Regions from separate parts of the Homo sapiens genome. Here regions 1 and 2 are each linked to region 3. The links are contacts of gene promoters, found by promoter capture Hi-C in human tissues and cell types (Jung and others, 2019). All regions are on one chromosome and are shown on one strand. The core of a region is centred on a gene start or on the middle of the fragment in contact, and the rest is flanking DNA. Distances in the headings are between cores, read along the strand shown. Region 1 has its middle 7.7 kb from the start of STK25. Region 2 overlaps SNED1 (sushi, nidogen and EGF like domains 1). Region 3 holds the start of RNPEPL1 (arginyl aminopeptidase like 1).

Region 1 (3,322 bases), core at 343-2,842, 950 kb after region 3:
CCATTCTTCTCACTGGCTTCTCGAGCTTTCTCACAGTGTGGTAGGCAGGAGAGGGGATGAGAAGGTTGCATTAGTCTGCTCAGGCTGCTATAACAAAATACCAGCCTATGACTATGACAATAGACATTTATTTCTGACGGTTTTGGAGGCTAGGAAGTCTGAGATTAAGATGCTGGCTGATTCAGTTCCTGGTGAGGCCCTCTTCCTGGCTTGCAAATGGCTGCCTTCTCACTGTGTCCTCACATGGCAGACAGAGAGCTCTCTGGTGTCTCTTTTCATGAGGGCCCGATCCTGTTGGATCAGGGATCCACCCTTATGAACTCATTTAACTTGCATTAACTCCTTGTAAGCTTTATCTCCAAATACATTGACGGTTAGGGCTTCAGCATATGAACTTTGGAGTAGAAGAGACACAAATGAGTCTGCAGCAGGAGATTCCAAAGGCTAGCATTCTGGAAGGAAAAGGTGCCAGTGCATGGCTTCGTAATGACCTGGCACAGTGCATGGCTTCGTAATGACCTGGCAGCTGGTTAGCACCACTTCCACCATCGTCATGGCTCACCCAGATTTAAGGGGGGAAAGCATGTAACTCACATTGTGAGACAAACATAGAGGAGGGAGGTAATGTTGAGGCCATCTTTGGAAAACACAAAGATGAGGGAATTATAGCTGTCACAGGCTCAGCAGTAATGTCTTAGGCTTAATAATGTAATTCCCATATGTTGATTTTTAACATTTATAATTATTCTCTATAGAACGTGAAGGTTTTCCACTTTAACCATGTAGAAGTAGAAGTAAGGAAGAAGATAGAAAAATGGCATCTAGAAGTAGGAGAAGAGAAAGGGAAACTGCACTTCAGTCTTAGTTCAGAAAATGTCAGAATCACTTTTAGTTTCAAGCCACCGAGAGCAAAGACAACAATATGAACTGCTGCCTGGCCACAAAAGCTAAGGTTTTTTTGGTGTGAGAAGAAAGCATAGGACACTTCGGTGGGTAAAGAATGTTTTAAAACTCCAAGTCTACGGGACGTTTACATATGTACCATATAATAATTAAGAGTGAGTACAGCAGGGCAAGGTGGCTCATGCCTGTAATTCCAACACTGGGAGGCCGAGGCGGGCGGATCATTTGAGGTCAGGAGTTTGAAACCAGCCTGACCAACATAGTGAAACCCCATCTCTACTAAAAATACAAAAAATTAGCTGGGTATGGTGGCACACGTCTGTGATGTGAGCTACTCAGGAGGCTGAGGCACAAGAATCACTTGAACCCAGGAGGCGGAGGTTGCAGTGAGCTGAGATTGTGTCATTGCACTCCAAACTGGGTGACAGAGCTAGACTACGTCTCGGGAAAAAAAAAAAAAATTAACTGGGCCTGGTGGCGGGCGCCTGTAGTCCCAGCTACTCCGGAAGCTGAAGCGGGAGAATCTTTTGAACCTGGGAGGTGGAGGTTGCAGTGAGCTGAGACTGTGCCACTGCACTCCAGCCTGGGTGACAGAGTGAGACTCCATCTCAAACAACAAACAAAAAAAGATACGTAGATTAATGAAATCAAATTCATTACCAGAAATAGACTTATGATCAATTGATTTTTTAAAAGTATGCCAAGACAATTCAGTTGGGAAATAATTACTTTATTTTAATTGTTTTGTTTTAGCTCTGTTCCAGCCAGTGAACAAAGGGGAAGAGTAATTTTTTCAACAAATGGTGCTGGGATCTTGCAGATACCTGAACATGTGCAAGCTGCTGGAGGGCAGCATGCCCAGGGAGGGCAGATAAGCTCTGTGCTCACACCCCCACAACACACACACAAACACACCCAACACACACACACACCCAACACACACACCCCCAGCACACACACCCCCAACACACGCACACCCCCAACACACGCACACAACACACACACACCCAACACACACCCCCAACACACACCCAACACACACACCCCAACACACACCCAACACACACACCCCAACACACACACATACCCAACACACACACTGAACACACACACAACACATACCCAACACACACACAACTCCAACACACACATACACATACCCAACACGCAACACACATGCACACCCCCAATACACACTCAACACACCCAACACAACACACCCAATACACACAACACACACCCAACACACACACACGCCCAACACATATACCCAACACACATCCCAACACATACACAACATACACACACACCCAACACAAACACACCCCCAACACACACACACCCCCAACAAACACACCCAACACACACCCCGAACACACACCCAACACACACACCCCAAACACACCCCCAACACACACACAAACACACCCAACACACACACACCCAACACACACCCCCAACACACACACCCCACCACACAACGTGCACACCCAACACACACACCCAACACACACCCCCAACACACACACACCCAACACACACACACCCAACACACACCCCCAACACACACACCCCAACACACACACACACCCAACACACATACACATACCCAACACGCAACACACACATGCACACCCCCAATACACACTCAACACACCCAACACAACACACCCAATACACAAAACACACACCCAACACACACAACACCAACACACACACCCCAACACACACATATACCCAACACACACACCTGACATATACACACACCCAACACACACACAAACATACACAACACACACATATACACCCCCAATACACACAACACACGCCCAACACACAAATACACAGCCCCAATACACACATGCCCAACACACACATATACCCAACACACATCCCAATACATACATAATGTACATACGCAACACCCAACACACACCCCAACACATACAACATACACATACCCAACACACACGAAACACACACAAAACACACACACACCAACACACAACACGTAGATACCTCAACACACACAATACACATACCCAACACACAACACGTAGACACCTCAACACACACACAACACACATACCCAACACACACACTAATACACTAATACACACAACACCCCACACCAACACACAAACATACACAACACATACACGTACACACACCCCAACACACAAACCCCAACACACACATCCAACACACACACACACAACTGGATATCCACATGCAAAAGAATGAAGTTAGACCCAATCAACTAAAAACGGATCATGAATTTGAATGTAAGCGCTAAAACTATAAAATAGCTTATTAGATATGACAAATGCACAAGAGACAAAATTTAAAAATAGATTAATTCAAATTCACCAAATTGAAAACTTGTATGCTTCAAAGGACACCATCAAGAAAGTGAAAA
Region 2 (3,786 bases), core at 1,287-3,786, 520 kb after region 3:
TTATTCTGGGGTTAATTTTGCCCTAGTTCTATGGCATGGCCTTTCTGCGGTTTCTTTTTTTTTTTTTTTTTTTTTTTTGAGACAGTGTCTTGCTCTGTCGCCCAGGCTGGAGTGCAGTGGAGCGATCTCAGCTCACTACAACCTCCGCCCTCCTGGGTTCAAGCTATTCTCCTGCCTCAGACTCCCAAGTAGCTGGGATTACAGGCACTCACCACCATGCCCAGCTAATTTTTGTATTTTAGTAGAGACAGGGTTTCACCATGTTGGCCAGGCTGGCCTCAAACTCCTGACCTCAAGTGATCGGCCCGCCTTGGCCTCCCAAAGTGCTGGTATTACAGGAGTGAGCCACCGCACCTGGCCCTGTCTGGGGTTTCTATGGATGGCCTAATAAACAAGATCTCTCTACTCTGGCTCTGGAAATCGTTCAACTCCTCAGTAGTTCTTCTTTGCCTTGTGGGGATTCACCCTATGCATGCACAGCTTTATTTCCAACCACAGGCCCAAGGGGACCCTACACAGATTCTGGAGTTCCTCCTCTGCATAGTTCCCTCCTCTTCAGTACTGCCCCACAAATTCCAGCTGCCTCTGTCTCCCCAACTTCAATCTCTGTTTCCTCAACTCAGTGTGACCACTGCTTGGATCCCCTTTCTCTGTGATGCCATCCAAAAACTTCTCTAGGCTGAATTCCAGGCTGACCACAGGACTCATCTCATCTGTTTCTCCTCTCTCAGGGATTACAGTCTCGTGTTGTCTGTTTTCTAACATCTGACATACAGTTACTTACTATATTTTGTCCAGTTCTCTGGTTGTTCACATTGGGAGGTTAATTCCAGATTCTGTTACTCTTTCATGTCCAGAAATGGAAGTCTTACCACAGGTTTTCGATCCTAAAGGTTCTATGAGACTTAGCATATGAGTTGGAGCTTTGCCTGCTGAACTCCTTGGATTTCCCTTTTAAACAGCTCTGACATTTGAGAACTTTAACAAAAGACAAAACGCCTTCCCATCCATTATTATCTACAAACTTGTAAGAGAGATGGTATGAGTAGGTCCCATTTTTACCTGCAACCGAGGCTTAAAACTTGAAGAGACTTGCTCAAAGTAGCCTGGTTAATAAATGGAAGAGGCAGGAGATGAAATCGGGTCTCCTGTTCTACAATGCCTACATCCGAATCCCGAATCCCCAACACTCCTCAAACTTCTCTGTGAAATACCCAGAAAAACAGAAAAGCGAGGCCATACCTTCCCCAGGCCTCCGGCCAGGTGGCTGCCTCTAGCACTGACATGTCTTTGACATTTCACATTTTATTTTTAGTACCATATCCTTTGTCAGTGCTCATCAGAATGCACATTAAAATGGGTTTATTTTATGCATATTACTGTACCACAATAAATTTATTACAAATCACATGACCTTTATGTTAGACATTTTAATACATCAATAGGAGGTCACGTTTCATTCAGAAAATAGCAGTTTTTCCCTCAAACACCTTCAGGTTTACTGTGGGTTCACATAGCCTAGGTTAAGCAGTTGGCAACATTTTGCTTCACTGTCTGGTTTTACAAAGCTTTCTTGTGACAACAGGTATAAAAGAGTCTACCGAGTTCACCAAGACATCTGCTTCAAAGAGAGCTGTGAAAGCACAAGCCTCAAGAAGACCCCAAACAGGTGCCTCTGGGGAGCAGGCCCATGCCGTGTCCTGCATGTAGCCCACAGGGTGATGGGGCAAGGGCGGGGTGCTATGGGATGCTGCAGGCCTGTGGGCTGAGCCAGGCGGTCTACTCGCCCAGATAGGCAGCCCCTGGGCAGCCACGTTCTGCTACGAAACTGTATGTCCATATATGTGCATGTGAGCATACCCAGAGGGGCACAGCCGGGCATGCTGGGTGCTGGGGGGGGTCACTCTGGTTATGCATATTCACACAGAACATGGTGCTACAATTGGGAAGCACAGGGTGTTACGGACAGCCCCGAGTATTTAATGGCCGATATAGCGCGTCGCTCTTTACTTTTTATTCACTCACACCCAGGTTCTTTCCACAAAGGGTTCAAGGTAGTTACAAGAATTACTACTGTTTGGCGTTTGCTGAAAGAAGTACGTGAGAATATTATATGCTTTAGAAACCACAGAGTCGAAGCCTGTCATCGTCCTCATAGACCAATGAGTAGCCACACGTACTTGTTTGGCATTACCAAGTGTCCGGGCAAGGCCGCAGCCTGCAGCTCACCAGCCGTGCTGCTCGGCCTGTGCACGTCACCGGCTCTTCCCTAGGGTAGCTTTTGCTTGCTTTCTCCCACGTCCATCCTCTCTCTCTCTGACTCACAGCCAGCCAGGTTTCTAGCCTTGTCATTCCTAAACTACTGCCTCAAGCCAGGCGGGCGCACACAAACTAAAATGCTAATCTCCACAGCGGTGTCTGGACTAATGGTGTCCCCCACCGTGGAATGTATGTGAGCTAAAGACAGGATCTCAGCAGGCAGCCTGGACTGAGGTAGCTGTAGAATTCAAGGTACACAGTCTCTTTTTCATTAAACGACTTTTCTCTAATTATTTCAGGAAACAAAGTAAGAGTCAGACACTGGAGAAATCTTAAGGTACGTCCCTGCTGCTCCCGCCCCACTACCACAGAGCTGCTGGGAAGTGGGGGGCGACTGCCCAGCCCCGGGATCTCAGAGTGCCGCTGCCTGCTTACTCAGCACTGCTAAAGGAAGCGCGGTCCTGTGCTGCTGTGTTACAGACTCCCGGGCAGGAAGGTTCAGAAGTCCCCAAGGGGAAACAGACATGAACCTGGTCTAGCCACTGACAAATACACCTTCAGGTGGAAATGAGGCTCTCTGTGGATAGGGCAAATCCCACTCTCTCTCAAGGGAAATGTGGCCAAGAAACCCCTAGATCAGCTGCAGTGGGAGGAAGAGGCAGGGGGGTGGGCCCTTGGAGAGGCTGGAAGACCACCTGGCACCTGGGAGGAGGGGCCACGGGCAGCGGGAGGGCCTGGGCTGCTGAGAAATTCCGGGGGCTCCAGGAGAGGGCTGAGAGAGTGCCTCCCAGATCTTGTGAACGGCATTCTGTTGGAACTAAAAGTGGGGCAGGGGCCTTGATCGCTTAATATTTAGAAAGTGTTGAAGACCGCCGCTAGAAAGTCGTCACTGACACTGGGCTCATAGGCATTCATAAATCCTGACGTGAAAGGAACTTCCTCTCGCCTTTGTTTAAGCCAGCATTTCCCAAACTCTTTTGGCAACCAAACCCCATCCTGCCCCCACCTCCCCACACAAACTGCCGAATCTTAAACAACACTGGCATTCTTCACAATCGTTTGCAAGAGACTGGGATATACCATAGAAAGCCATCTACAACCTGTTACCAGTTTCATACTGACCATCATTTTTTATCAACATGTCACTGCATGAAAGATGAATCTCTGGTTGGCCTAGGACAGCTTTGCTCTTCCTGCCCCTTATAGGAGCCCTCACAGTTCATCTTCCTGGTGGCGCAGATGAGTGAGGCACCCTTGGGTAACAAGCCACTTCAAAACAGGTCTATGTTTTGTTACGTGCCTAAAAAAATAAAGGAGAAATGTCATTCAGGAACCTTTAAAAACAAACAGAAGCAAAACAGCTTTTCAGATATAGGCTCACACACACCAAAGGAAGAGTGTCCACACCCCCTTGGGGGAAAGGTCTGGGCCGGAGCTCCGCACATGGCAGGAACTTGAGCTCTGAGTTGGCCATGACAGAGTGCATGCATCTGCCTCTTCGGATGTGGAAAGTCTCTCCATAAGAGA
Region 3 (3,704 bases), core at 324-2,823:
GGTTCTTCCAGCCAGGAACATGGCCCGGTGGGCTCTGGAGAGCCCCGTAGAACTGGGGGTGCCATCGAAAACAGTCTGCCCTTGGCACTGCAGGGCCCCACCGGGCAGGGCGCTGGGGGCAGTGAGGAGGGTCCCATCTCAGCTGTCTTCCCTGTCAGCCTTGGATGCGAGGCTGATCCACACCTCTGAGTGACTGTGTAAGCCTAGGGGTTCCTGGTGAGTTTGGGATGGGTGCCCCAAGATCGTGGCCGTGTCCCTAAAGAGGGCACGTGGGGACCTGAGGTCCTACGGGAAAACTGAAATGATGCCTCAGTGCTCTGTCCCGCAAACGTGAACGCACACTCTCCCTCTCAGCCTTCCTTCCCGCCCCACGGAAGGAGGGTAGACACAGAGGGTTACACAACGAGGAGACTGAGTCCAGACACAGGAAACACTACTCAGGGCTGACGCTGAGTCGAGTGCGGTACCCGAGTCCAGCCCTGCACGGCCACACCTCAATGGAGCAGAAGAGAGAGGTGTCCTGGGTTCCTGGATAGTTCCCCAGCCCCAGAAGCCCCTTGTCCCTAGGAATTTGAATTCTTACTTGATGACAACAGCGACATCATGGTGGCCCCTGTTATTCCACAGCCTCAAAATTTAACCGCTGTGAGCTCACTAGCAGCTTCTGCCAGGCGAGCACCCCTTCCCTCGGGGCTCAGGCTCCTGGACAGGCTCAGCCTTGGGCAGCCTTCGCCAGGTCCACAGAGAATGGCGTTGGGAAGGGTGGACCTGGCGGATGGGGTGGGGACAGGCGGGCCAGACCCTCCTTCGTACCCCAGCACAGGGCTCCCAAATGAGAGGTCCCCAGCACTGCCCAGAGGAACTTCTGCGATTGTGGAAATGATTCCTGCCTGCTTTGTCCATTAGCCACTCCTCCCAGGAAGACACACACACTCACTCACTCCACCTGCCACGAAGGAACTGAACTTCTAACTGTATTTAATTCGCATCTAAATGGCCACACGTGGTTGGTGGCTGCTGTAGTTGACAGCGCTGCGTGAAGGCTCCGGCGCTTCTCGCACCGCAGGGCCCACAGCACAGACCACACCTGTAGACTTGGAGGAGTGGCAGGGGTGCCAGGAGAATCCTGCCCTGCCCGTAGCCCCGGATGAAAGGATGACATTGAGTTCGCGACGCTGCGCTCCTCGGGAACACGAACCACACCTGGAAGCAGCCTGCCCCTGTGGCCCCAAGGTTCCCGGGTCCCTTCAGCGGCTGCCCCAGGGGCCTGGCCGGCAGTGTCTGGGAGGGAGCAGCGATCCCGCCTCCTGGGATCTCCCGGGCGCCGCCCGGGGAGGAAGCGAGGGGCTGGGGGTGCTGCTCACCCGCTCCGCGCGCCTCGGCTCCCAACACAGCGCCCCGGCCCCGCGCCGCGCTCGATTCCCCGGCTCCCCGCGCCCCTGGCTCCTGGCCCTCCCCGCCCGGCGCCCCGGCCCCGCGCCCCGGCCCCGCGCACAGCGCCCCCGGCGGCGGCCGAGCGGAGCCCGAGCGGGGCGGCGCACGGCGCGGGGCCGGGCCGGGCGGCTCCCGGCGCGACTTCCTGTTGTGCCCGCGCCCCGCCGCCGCCGCCGCCCGGCGCCCCTCGCCCGCGGCCCGGCGCGGCCGCCGCCCATGGATTTCACCTAGTGCCGGCGGCCATGGCCGCGCAGTGCTGCTGCCGCCAGGCGCCCGGCGCCGAGGCCGCGCCCGTCCGCCCGCCGCCCGAGCCGCCGCCCGCCCTGGACGTGGCCTCGGCCTCCAGCGCGCAGCTCTTCCGCCTCCGCCACCTGCAGCTGGGCCTGGAGCTGCGGCCCGAGGCGCGCGAGTTGGCCGGCTGCCTGGTGCTCGAGCTGTGCGCGCTGCGGCCCGCGCCCCGCGCGCTCGTGCTCGACGCGCACCCGGCTCTGCGCCTGCACTCAGCCGCCTTCCGTCGCGCCCCCGCCGCCGCCGCCGAGACGCCCTGCGCCTTCGCCTTCTCCGCCCCCGGGCCGGGGCCCGCGCCGCCGCCCCCGCTGCCCGCCTTCCCCGAGGCGCCCGGCTCCGAGCCCGCCTGCTGTCCGCTGGCCTTCAGGGTGGACCCGTTCACCGACTACGGCTCCTCGCTCACCGTCACGCTGCCGCCCGAGCTGCAGGCGCACCAGCCCTTCCAGGTCATCCTGCGGTACACCTCGACCGACGCCCCCGCCGTGAGTCCGGGGCGGGCGCCGGGGCTGCGGGCCGGTCCGCAGGGCGCTGCTAGCGGCCTCTCGCCGCACGGCCAGGCTGAGGGACGCGAATCTGCGCCCTACAGGTGCCCCCCTCCCCCCACCCCGGTGATTCCCAGCTGTTGCCTGTGAGCCCTTAGGACCCTCGGATAGAAGCCGGAGTCCTGCGGGGACACGGGACAGCATGTCACTCCGGGAAGCCTCCCGTTCAGGTGTCTGGTCCCTGCCTGGGGACATGAGCAGCTTCTGTCACCCACCGAGGTGTACATCTGCAGGATCCTGGCACCAAGGGTTGGGCTGGAGTGTCAGCTGCGGAAGGGCCTCCATGTGACCAGTGCGTGCAGATGAGTCCAAGCCAGAGGCAGAGGAAAGGGCCATGGAGATTGTGATGCTCGGTTTGGGGCTTCCTTGGCCAGCACTGGTGGAGTGTTGAGACCAGTGGGCCCCGCGACCCCAACATAGACACACATAGGCTCTGCAGGGCTTGCACACTGGGTACCCACCACTCCAGAGACTCTGCAAGAAAGGCCAGGTGGCTGAGGCTGGCGCTGTGGCTGCAGCACCCCCTCCACCTCCACCAGTGGGGATGTGTACAGGATGGAGCAGGGCCTTTCCTGCCTACAGCATGGGGGTTCATACTGCATCCCTAGGTGGTATGGACGGCACACATGTGACACCCGACATATGCAAGACACACACAGCTGTGGAGGCGCTGGGAAGTCCAGCTGTCACTGGTCACGGCACATAAATGGACAGGGTGGTGGAGAGGTGGTCGAGAGGCTTCAGGCCACAAAGAGCCAAGGTGACATCTGGGCAGGAAGAACCCAGACCAGTGCACCCCTATGGGCTTCCTGTACATTTCCCAGGAGCCCTAAGCAGGACCTGCCACCTCACCTTTTTCCCAGAACCCCTGTGGGTGTGCAGGCCGCTGGCTAGCCGGCCCCGCCCCTGCTGTGGTATTCCAGGGCTCTGACCGGTGGCAAGTATGCCTCCCAGTATGACAGGTGAGAACTGAGGGATGGGCTTCTCCTTGGCCTTGATCCGTGTTTGGAGCCCACGTGTCTGGTCCGCCCAACACTGGCCTGCAGAGTGGCCGGACCAGGGCCCTCAGCAGGCTGCTGTGAACGGGGCCCAGTGAGCAAGGGTGGCCATTGTCTCTTGGCTTCCTATGGCCTACTGGGTGGCCCTTGGGTACTCTGGGCAGGGAGAGTGGCATAGTCCCCCAAGTCTGCGTGGTGTCAGGGTTGGCAGGCTGTGGACAGGGGGCCTAGCGTCACCTGGCCTGTGAGCCGCCCTACTTGCAGAAGGCAGAGTATTCGACTCTAACCTCAGGCATGCACCTTTGTATGTGAGCGCCATGGGGCTGGGGCCACACGTAGAGTCCCCTTCTCTTCCTGCATGTTCCAGGGACTCAGGCCCAAATCCCTAAGCCTGTCCCTGTGCCAGGGAGGATGCAGCGGAAGCTCCCTGGGAGGCCCTGCC

The links. Contacts are between HindIII fragments. The study calls those that stand out against the background at their distance.
Region 1: a fragment that was not itself captured here is called in contact with the fragment with the promoter of RNPEPL1 in region 3 in 1 of the 25 tissues and cell types used here (dorsolateral prefrontal cortex).
Region 2: a contact is called between a fragment that was not itself captured here and the fragment with the promoter of RNPEPL1 in region 3, in 1 of the 25 tissues and cell types used here (dorsolateral prefrontal cortex).

The regions. Positions count from the first base shown.
Region 1 is chr2:241,514,624-241,517,945 of GRCh38, forward strand. No RefSeq gene overlaps it. Among named protein-coding and RNA genes, the nearest start is that of STK25, 7.7 kb to the left of the region's middle. The HindIII fragment of the contact is 7,266 bases long and covers 1-3,322 here.
Region 2 is chr2:241,085,807-241,089,592 of GRCh38, forward strand. It overlaps SNED1 (sushi, nidogen and EGF like domains 1), which reads left to right. Exons shown (of 32, transcript NM_001080437.3): 30 at 1,586-1,669; 31 at 2,559-2,596. The coding sequence ends at 2,595. It also overlaps a transcript of MTERF4 not described here. Among named protein-coding and RNA genes, the nearest start is that of MTERF4, 15 kb to the right of the region's middle. The HindIII fragment of the contact is 4,184 bases long and covers 445-3,786 here.
Region 3 is chr2:240,566,911-240,570,614 of GRCh38, forward strand. It overlaps RNPEPL1 (arginyl aminopeptidase like 1), which reads left to right and starts at 1,574. Exons shown (of 11, transcript NM_018226.6): 1 at 1,574-2,204. The coding sequence starts at 1,677. RefSeq lists silencers at 1,291-1,550, 1,581-1,640, 1,781-1,970, 2,211-2,260 and enhancers at 2,021-2,659, 2,531-2,710, 2,660-3,298. The HindIII fragment of the contact is 6,553 bases long and covers 1-3,502 here.